3 separate regions of the Homo sapiens genome follow, and regions 1 and 2 are each linked to region 3. Evidence: promoter capture Hi-C in human tissues and cell types (Jung and others, 2019). All regions are on one chromosome and are shown on one strand. The core of a region is centred on a gene start or on the middle of the fragment in contact, and the rest is flanking DNA. Distances in the headings are between cores, read along the strand shown.

What was found. The method cuts DNA at HindIII sites, captures the fragments that hold promoters and counts their contacts. A contact is called where the count stands out against the background at its distance.
Region 1: a fragment that was not itself captured here is called in contact with the fragment with the promoter of ASS1 in region 3 in 1 of the 25 tissues and cell types used here (spleen).
Region 2: a fragment that was not itself captured here is called in contact with the fragment with the promoter of ASS1 in region 3 in 1 of the 25 tissues and cell types used here (mesenchymal stem cells).

What each region holds. Positions count from the first base shown.
Region 1 is chr9:130,637,300-130,640,506 of GRCh38, forward strand. FUBP3 (far upstream element binding protein 3) reads left to right here. Exons shown (of 19, transcript NM_003934.2): 19 at 1-1,053. Among named protein-coding and RNA genes, the nearest start is that of MIR6856, 13 kb to the left of the region's middle. RefSeq lists an enhancer at 953-1,548. The HindIII fragment of the contact is 6,178 bases long and covers 1-3,207 here.
Region 2 is chr9:130,582,568-130,585,769 of GRCh38, forward strand. All of the region lies in intron 1 of FUBP3 (far upstream element binding protein 3), which reads left to right. Among named protein-coding and RNA genes, the nearest start is that of FUBP3, 4.6 kb to the left of the region's middle. The HindIII fragment of the contact is 6,365 bases long and covers 1-3,202 here.
Region 3 is chr9:130,443,432-130,446,596 of GRCh38, forward strand. It overlaps ASS1 (argininosuccinate synthase 1), which reads left to right and starts at 1,530. Exons shown (of 15, transcript NM_054012.4): 1 at 1,530-1,564. RefSeq lists a silencer at 1,333-1,452 and an enhancer at 2,333-3,000. The HindIII fragment of the contact is 13,908 bases long and covers 1-3,165 here.

The DNA.
Region 1 (3,207 bases), core at 621-3,120, 190 kb after region 3:
TCAGAGCTGTGACATTTCAACATGATGGTTTTGGTTTGGTTTGGTTTTGTGTCCTTTTTATTTGCAGTTTTTTCTGTTGCAACAGAAAGTGGCTTGGAAGTCTTAGGTGGTATGTAACAAATTCTTTTTAAAAATTTTAAAGCAGTATTTAAGTATTCTTAAATGTGTAAATTCATTTAATGTTTTACTTCTAATTTCTTGTATCTTGGCTGTCTGGTTTTATTGCATTTTTAAAAAAACTGAACTATTATGTATTGTAATGAATGATGTGAATTCTGAACTGAGACAGATAATTGTATTGCTGTCCAACAGGGGTTGGGAGGGGCATTTTGTAGGGTTTGTATAATTTCTAGAGTTCGAAAGGGGTAATATAAAAATGTGCTCGTGTGTTTAGCCTACGTTTTTCTCATGCCTCCATTACCAGTTGCAATTGTGTATCTAAGACCTCCAAGCTTGTTTTTAAAACAAAACAAAAAACCTTTCTCTATTATCTCAGAAATATAAATACTGTTATTTTTAATATTAAGAAATTCAATATAACTTTTAACACACACTGTGGAACATTAAACCGTATAAAAATGTAGTTATAACTATTTTTAATTCCAAGGTGTTGTTTGCTTTTTTCTTTTAAATATTTTCTTAATATTTTGTCAGATTAACTAGATGAATAAATAAATCTAGTATTAACCGCATTATGAATTAAATAATTTTGATTTAATGAAAGGGATAATATGATTTCCAGTGTTTACTGTAGTGTATCTTGTACAGATAACATGTATTTTTAAAGGAAAAAAAACGGAATTGAAGCTATTTTTTCTTGCATTTCTAATTGACCTGAGGGACATTCCGTTTGAAATGTACTGAAGTTACAGTTTCTGGTTTTTTCTCCTTATTTTTCTTATAATGCTTGAAATGTCTAACTATTAAAAAAGACAATTGGAAAATGTTATGCATGGGGTTTTTAAGAAAACAAAGTGTTCTTTTTATTTGACTGACAATTCATTTTACACTCTATATAATAAAATCTCCACAAGGCATCTTGTGGGCAAAGTCTTTCTGGCCTGTTTGCTTTCCATTCGCCGGTTCATCCCTCTGCCCCTGCCCGCGGCCGCCCGAGAGGGAAAGAGGATTCCTGCGGGCCTCGCCCGTCATCTTGCACCGCGTCCACCCGCCTTCGTTGGTGCACAGTCTAGATGTCTAGCTAGTTCGTTAAGCTAATTTTATGTTAATGGCTCTGTATGATTTGACAGCTTGACTTGAGAGCCGTGGTTGGGCTCAGCTCCCCTTCCCTGTCACAGTCAGGCATCTGTAAGTGAGAAGTCAGTATGGGAGTGTCATCGGATGGAGCTGGGAGATGCATTGAAGGGCGTGCGGCGGGTCAGCAGACTTCTGCGACTGACTGGGCAGCCCCTTGCCCTCCGCCCGCTCCCCTTCCCTGCGTGCCCATGCACACACATTCGCCTGCAAATGTAGGTGGGCTGCCCTAGGCGCGGTGTGCTTCCCTGACTGTTGCTGCCTGCATCCCCCACCTCCTTGTCCCCAGCCTCACCTGTGGCTGTGGTGGTGGTGCTTTCTCGCTCTTAGCCCCGTGCCCACGGTGGGACACCAGATCGCCAGGAGGGCTGGGAAGCATCAGCACACGTGCTCGTTATGTCCTGTCCTTTCATGAAGAAACAAATGGGGCGTCCTTCCCCAGAGGTGTTAAGTTACAGTCCTGTGGTCTTAGGACTCGTGGCGACAGTGTGGGCCTCAGACTTGGAAGGGCATTAAGTAATAGCATCAGCCCTCGCCTTTTTTTTTCCTTCTGTCCCGTTGGTTGGGGTGACTGGCATTGAGCAGTGTCTGCTTTCACGTCTGAGGGGCCCTGCCTTCGCCCTCAGGCTTTCTGTGCGGGTCTCTACTTAGATATAGAGACCTGTTTCCATCCTGAACGGGGCTTGCTGGGCTGTGCCTGGCCAATACCGGCCCCTTGTCTGTACTCCAAGCTTCTGACAGGAGGGGAAAAAAGCAGCTGTGGCTCCTTCAGGCCGAAAAGGGGTGTGGAGAGCAGCCCATCTGCGGCCATGGCAGGCCTGTTGAGAGCCGGAAGACAAAAAGGAGATGTGGCATTTTTAACTGCACCTCTAGAGAATCGAGTTTGACGTTGAGAAATTGAATAGTAAAAGGCACTTGGAAAGTGGGGGGAGGGGGCCGAGTGGGAGGAGGGCGTAAACGCTGATGACGGTAATGGGAATTCGGGAGAGGGCATTACAGAGAAGACTTCCTTCTAATTCATCTTCCAAGCTCTGTGCCAAAACAGCATTTGGCATGGTTCACAGGGAGCGATTGTGTGATAATGAACCCTAAGGTGTCCCTTAATTGAAGACTGAGCATTGTGGTTTGTGCCAAGAGTCATAAATGGCGCAGGCTTGCGGAGGATGCATTTTCTTAAATGTATCGGTAAGTACAGATTAGCGCTTGTCCCCAGTGAAATGCCCATACTATAAATTATGGAAATCTCTCTTTCTCTCTGATGCAATCTTTTATTGGGGGGAGGGGGTGTGGTACGACAGGAGGCGGGGGGGGAAAGTTTGCAAGCATATGAAATTTGGCCTCTCATTAACATGGCGCCCAAGGAAGATGATTTTCATCAGCAGTCTGGTGTACTGGAGGCTAAAGTGCTTGAAATGTACCAAGTTCAGCGGTTGTGTTCCATTAAGAAAGATGCATGGTCATCACTGTAAGGGCGGTCGGGGTCCGGGAGGCGGGGCGGGCGCTTGCCCAGTCTGTCTTCTGAATGCATGCCCCACCCCCACCCGCCACCGCCCATGCCTACTGGGTCTCTGCCAGCCTCCCAAGTTCAGGATCCATCAAGGACCCTGCTGAGCCGATCCCAGCCCCACCCAGAAGTTTGGGCTGGGGTTGAGGAGTTCTCAGCCAGCGGGCCTCAATCAGTACCCCTGGCCTCCCATCAGATAGGAGGCACCATCTTTCCAGGGTCACTCGACAGTGGTGACCACCCATGATGTCCCAGAGCCCCCAAGGTAGGGTCGGCTGGGGCACAGATGGCACAGTGCAGTGCCTGGTCCATGAGAACGTGGGTCACCCCAGAGCCGCAGCTTCTAGCTGGCTACAGCCCCACTCTCTCCCAGCCCCACTTCTGGTCCACTAGGGCCCAGCTGGGGTTTTTTAAGATGGGCTGAAGCAAATGGGCCTGATAGATGCTTA
Region 2 (3,202 bases), core at 394-2,893, 140 kb after region 3:
CTGGTTAGCAGAAGTAGTGTTTCTTCAACTAGTTCAGATAAGACAAAATCCTGAGTAGTTCATCCTGTTCCACAGCCGTCCTCTGCACTTCTATACTGACTGTCTGCCTAGGTTACAAGGGGACCTCTGGATGAGTAGATCCAAGTCTGGTTTATGTTGTTCCATTCTCCTAAAAATATTTTTAAATGTTCCTAGAAGGTCTACCATTGATAACTTAGTAGCACCTGTCATCACCCGTGAGCAATCCCTTGTTAGGAGAGTGTGATGCCACAGTGCATTATAGGTTGACAGCAGCCTTCCACAAGCTGGACCAGCTAGCTGTCTGCCAGTCGTCGCCTAAATAGAAATTGTTCTCCGAGAAACTACTAATACTTTTTAGGACTTTAAAAAGCATTAGATCTGTTTTGATCTAGATAGACCCACTCAATGCCTCTGGATTGTATAACTACAGCATATAATGTTGATACAGAATGCAGTCTAAATGGTGCTTCATAGAGTTCGTTCGGCATCACGGTAGCACTACACTTAAATGAGTGTGACCAAGCCATTGTAGAATCAGTAGAAAGTAACCTTTTGACAGATTTTTAGGCCCGAACCTCTTCTTCACTGGCACCTATTTTGGGGAAATGTTGATTGGTGTGGGGCCTCAGAAGTTCCACAGTCCTCCTGAAAATCTCTCCCAGTGCTGCTGTTTCACAGTTTAAGCCTGAGCAGTAGGTAATTTGGGATGTGTGTTGTATACCCTGGGCTGATTTAGAACTTTAATGCTTTAAGATTCTGACTTCTTAGAACAAGCACTAGGTTTCCTTTTAAGAGAACACTGTACATCTACCATTAAAAGAAAAAGCCTCCATTCATTGGCCAGTGGGTTCGCCCTGCGAGGCTCATTTAACACATGGTTTTGACTCCCGGCTCAGTCAAGTGTGCTGAACACTCAAGAGATCTAAGTGGTACTCCACTGAGACTGTCTTGTACATGTCCAGTGATTGAATAGCTCAAGTCATCATTTCACAAGGGACTAACTCCTGCCTGTACACTCATTTTAGCTTTCATAAACACTTGAAGGAAACTAGTGTCTGCAGGAAATCCACGGGCTGCTCCTGTAGCTTTACATTGTTGGGACCCAGTAGAGTACCTGGCGGAGTGAGTCTTCCTTAAAGGGTTTTGGTGATGTCACTGAGTGTGTGTGCGCCACCACATGTTAATGGAAGTGCTGAACTTCATACTGGGTATTGGAAAGTAGATAGTAAATAAACTATATATTCCACTGTATGTCTCTAAGGCTTTTCTCATTTGCAGATGAGAACATTTATAATGTGATAATTTATCATATAATATAATTATTTTGGGGTAGAGACAGGGTCTCACTATGTTGCCCAGGCTGGTCTCGAACTCCTGGCCTCAAGCAATCCTCCCACCTCAGTCTTTCAAAGTGCTGGGATGGGTGTGAGGCACCGTGCCCCCATGCCTGGCTGTCTTTATTTTAAAATCTGATAGCCCATGTGTATTACCAAACTTTGGTTTCTTCTGAAGTACCAGTTATTTCATAAATAGAAATTTACTTAGACCACAGTTCTCAAACTTGTGGCCTGTGAGCTATAGAAGACTTACTATGGGCCTGCAGGCATGCTTTGTTTGACCCACCCAGCACCAACACTTAAAAACTAGAGTGATTTTTGGCTGGGCACGGTGGCTTACACCCGTAATCCCAGCACTTTGGGAGGCCGAGGTGGGCGGATCACTTGAACTCAGGAGTTCGAGACCAGCCTGGTCAACGTGGCAAAACCCCATCTCTGCTAAAAATACAAAAATTAGCTGGGTGTGGTGGCAGGTGCCTGTAATCCCAGCTACTCAGGAAGCTGAGGTGGGAGAATAGCTTGAACCTGGGAGGCAGAGGTTGCAGTGAGCCGAGATCGTGCCATTGCATTCAAGCCTGAGTGAAAAGAGCAAAACTTTGTCTCAAAAAACAAAAGAAACTAGAGTGATTTTGCATTAAAAAAAAGAGAGAGCAAGATTTCGGGCTGGGCATGGTGGCTAATGCCTGTAATCCCAGCACTTTGGGAGGCTGAGGCAGGTGGATCACTTGAGGTCAGGAGTTTGAGACCAGCCTGGCCAACATGGCAAAACCCCGTCTCTACTAAAAATACAAAAATTAGCTGGGCGTGGTGGCACATGTCTGTAATCCCAGCTACTCTGGAGGCTGAGGCAGGAGAATTGCTTAAACCCAGGAGGTGGAGGTTGCAGTGAGCCGGGATGGTGCCACTGCACTCCAGCCTGGGCAACAGAGCAAGCCTCCATCCCAAAAAAAGTTTCGGTCAGGCACTGTGGCTCATGCCTGTAATCCCAGCACTTTGGGAGGCCGAGGCAGGGAGATCACTTGAGGTCAGGATGAGACCAACCTGGCCAACATGGTGAAACCCTGCCTCCACTTAAAATACAAAAATGAGTCAGGTGTGGTGGCACGCACCTGTAATCCCAGCTACTCGAGAGGCTGAACCACGATAATTGCTTGAACCTGGGAGACAGAGGTTGCAGTGAGTGGAGATTGCATCATTGCACTCCAGCCTGGGCGACAAAGTGAGACTCTGTCTCAAAAGAAAAAAAAAGATTTCTGGTTTCCCTAGAAAAGATCTGGCCACACTGCTCCCACAGCCTGCACAGCGATAATCAGCAGGAGCTGAGTAGCTGCTGCGTTTTTGACATGAGGCATTCACACTCTCCGGGTTGTCTTCATTCCCGCCATCTTGCTATTGTTTTATACTGTTCTTTGGGATGCCTAATTGACAGTTTTTTACTTATCTTTTTGTAAATTGTGAGTCAGTCGCCTCTGGTTTTTATTTGAAATTTCTAATGGAAAGCTCTGGATTGAGAGTTAGGAGGTCTGAGTTGCCTGTAAGCCGATGCATGACCTTGGGCTGGGTTGGGCTTTCCTAGCATTTGATCTATAGGCTGTTTAAAGATCTTCCGTGGAAAAGAGATCATGGGCAGTTAAGTTTGGGGAATGCAGGATTAAATAAAGGTGAATTGGCTTCTTTACTGTAGGACTTCTCAGAACCTTTAACATGCTTATGTGCATTAACTCCTACAGGGTTTAGGGTGTGTTTCGTAAATGTCCTGAAGTTAGATCACTTCGTGCCCTCTTTCCATGGAACCAAATCACATTCTGTGCATCAAACGTCAGGAAATGTGGAGCTAGATAATT
Region 3 (3,165 bases), core at 280-2,779:
ACAGGGTAGTCGTGAAGGTGAAAACAGAATGCTTGCTCTTTCCAGGGCGACCCTACCAATGAGAAAACAGGCTGCAGTGGGGAGTGACCGCCCCAAGGACACACAACTGCTGCAAGGGTGTCATTGTGTAGGTGTTCCTCACTTGCCTCCTGCTAGTGTGGGAGGCCCAGAGACTCCACGAGACCCCCAGCTGCTCCTGTGAGAGGGCTGAGGGGGGCCAGCTGTGATACCGCCTCCCATCTAGAAGGGGCCTCAAGCCACCCATGTACACCCAGCCCCACGTGGCTCACCAGGGGCCCCTTTGCCATCAAGGGCCACATCCCAGGTTTAAGTGTCAGAGAACTAAGGGGCTTAAGAGAGAATCGAGCTGTGGCTTTGTTTGTGAATTGGTTTGATCCTTTTTTCCTTCTAGAAGGACTCACAGCTACTGTTGCTTGCCATGGGCTTGAGGGGGTGGTGGGGGCTGACTGGCAGAGGGGCTGAGAGTGGATGGTGATTAAAAGGAGCACTGACTCCAGGGTAGCGGCTGGGCAAGGCTTGGGGCTCCCACCTCCCCCAGGTTCAGAGCCGGCTGAGGACCGGGAGTCCTCCCTTCTGGGGTCAGTGCTCACTATGGAGCAACTGCCTTGGATGGGGTCCCAGGACTTGCTCTTTTACTGGGGCTGTGGTTGCAGTGATCAGGGCTTTGGAGCCGGCAGACCAAGCTGGGAAACTCCTGAGGTAGAGAAGCTGTTGAAGGCGGGCCTGGGGTCACAACTCCCAGCTGCTTTTTACAAGCAAGAGACTTCTCTCTGAACCTCAACCTTCCCTCCTGTCTAGTGGGTTCGCAGCCAGACAGTCTTTTACTCACTGCTTACTGGGTGCCCTCTGGAGTCTGGGCAGGTGCCAGGCTCTGAGAAGACAGGCCAGCAATCAGCCCTGGCCTAAGGGATGAAAGCCGGGCCTTCCCGCGCCGGCTCACCTCGGTTTTCTCATCCTTACTCGGCTACCAGAGGCTATGGTTGGGGAGGGAGGGGGCTCTGGGGGCTGCAGAAGGCCCAGGCTGCCGGCACCGGATAGAAGTGAGCACGAAGCTCCCTGCGCCAGTGGAACTTTTATCCCGGCTCCCACCGCGAAGCGTTTAAATTGCTTCCCCAGGGCCAGGAGGCAAGTCTCTCGAAGGACGGCTGCGGCCACCCTCCGCCCCTGAGTTACATGGGTCGCAGCCACTGCCGCCCTCCTTGGCGCCTCCAGCCCGCGGGCCAGGGCCAGGAACCGCGAGCCGCCTGCGCCCCCGCCGGCGCGCCCCTGGGAGGGTGAGCCGGCGCCGGGCCCAGGCCCGGACCTGGTGGGAGGCGGGGGGAGGTGGGGACGAGGCCTGGGGAGGCGGGCCCCGCCCATCTGCAGGTGGCTGTGAACGCTGAGCGGCTCCAGGCGGGGGCCGGGCCCGGGGGCGGGGTCTGTGGCGCGCGTCCCCGCCACGTGTCCCCGGTCACCGGCCCTGCCCCCGGGCCCTGTGCTTATAACCTGGGATGGGCACCCCTGCCAGTCCTGCTCTGCCGCCTGCCACCGCTGCCCGAGCCCGGTAAGGAGCCCTCGGCCCCTCTCGCTGCCCACTCCCTAGCCGAGAGCACCCGCTTCCCGGGCCCAGAGGAGGAGGCGTAGAAGACGCCCGCCCCGGGGCCCGCGGAGGCAGAGGGCGGACCCCGATCGCCACTCGCCGGGGACTGGGACCGAGGCAGGAGGGAAGGGGCTCCCGATGCTCAAACGCCTGGCACCGGATTCCAGGTTTCTGGAGCGTGGGGGACGCGGCGGGGGCGCGAGTCCCCGGGGGCGCGAGTCCCCGGGTCCGAAGAGCGGCTCGGGTTATTTGTTCCCTGCGCAGCCGGGTCCTTTCTGGACTCCTTGTCGGATCCGGCTTCCTCTGTGTCGTGAAGCCCCCACATGGAGACCTGGGGAGTCCGGAGCGTGTGGGGGGGCTCCCGATTCTCTCTCCCTCTCTCGGACTCGCCGTCTGTCTCCACCTCTATTTCTCTGCGTAAAACCAGGAGTCCAGCCCCTCTGGGGCTTGGACGTATCGCTTTCCCCGCAGCCTCAGTTTACCCTGGACAGATGGGCATGGTGGCCCTGGCTCCCTTCCCTGCAGGGGGCGGCAGCCACCTGGCCCTCCCCGGTGGGGCTGGCGGCCTCGCGGCGGGGTTTCCTGCTGGCCTGGGCTGGGCTCTGTGGGAGGGGCAGTGCCAGGAATATTTTCTATTCGGGCTGCTGTTGCCTTTGGCCCCTGGGCGGCTGCGCCCTCCAGGGAGGCAGGGTCATTGTGAAAGAGAGGAAACTCCTCTCCCAGGCGGCCAGGGCTGTTCCTGAGGAGGGCTGGCCTGGCCTCAGTATTCTTCTCTGAGAAGTGGAGAGTCCACTCCCGAGCAGCCGAGTCAGGCTGCAGGTCTCAGGGCAGGAACAGACCTGTTCTCTCCCCAGGGGTAGATCAAGACCTAGGGGACTTGGGCTTTGATCCTCCCGCTCCCAGCAAGCACAAACCCAGTGATGGGGAGAGCTGGTGAGGCCTTGGCTCAGCCTCCAGATTCCCAAGCTTCCTTTTCATTTTCTTTTCTTTCTAAAAATTTATCAGAGATGTGGACTCGTCATGTTGCCCAGGCTGGCCTCGAGCTCCTGGGCTCAAGCGACCCTCCTCCCTCGGGCCTCCTAAACTGCTAGGATTACAGGCTCGAGCCACCCAAAGTGCCTGGCCCCCAAGCTTCAGTCTGTTAGAGCTGGCTGGGGCTGAGGGCTCAGGAAACATTTGCAGATACTGTGCGGCTGCTAAGGGCTCTGTAGACTGTTGGGTGCTGGGCCTGGGTCCAATTGCACAATAACTGTGCCTGGGGTTAGGTTCTGATGAGAGGGAGGGAGAAGCAGCCACACGGACTGGGAAGCTTGGCTAGGAGCAGGAACTGGAGGAGTCTCCATTCCAAACTCCCTCTCCCTCCCAGACCCCTTAGGCCCAAGGCCTAGGGCGGGGAAGTTTGGGGGTGGGGGCGGGACCCTGTCCTGGCGGGGCCATCTGTGCACCATGCTGAGAAGTAATTCTGGTTCTGCTCTGTGGGGGTGGATCAAGTGAATGAATAGTGACTCCTGCCTGCTGAGCGCCTGGCCGGTGCGGGGGCAGACACGTCGTGAGAGGGAAGGGGA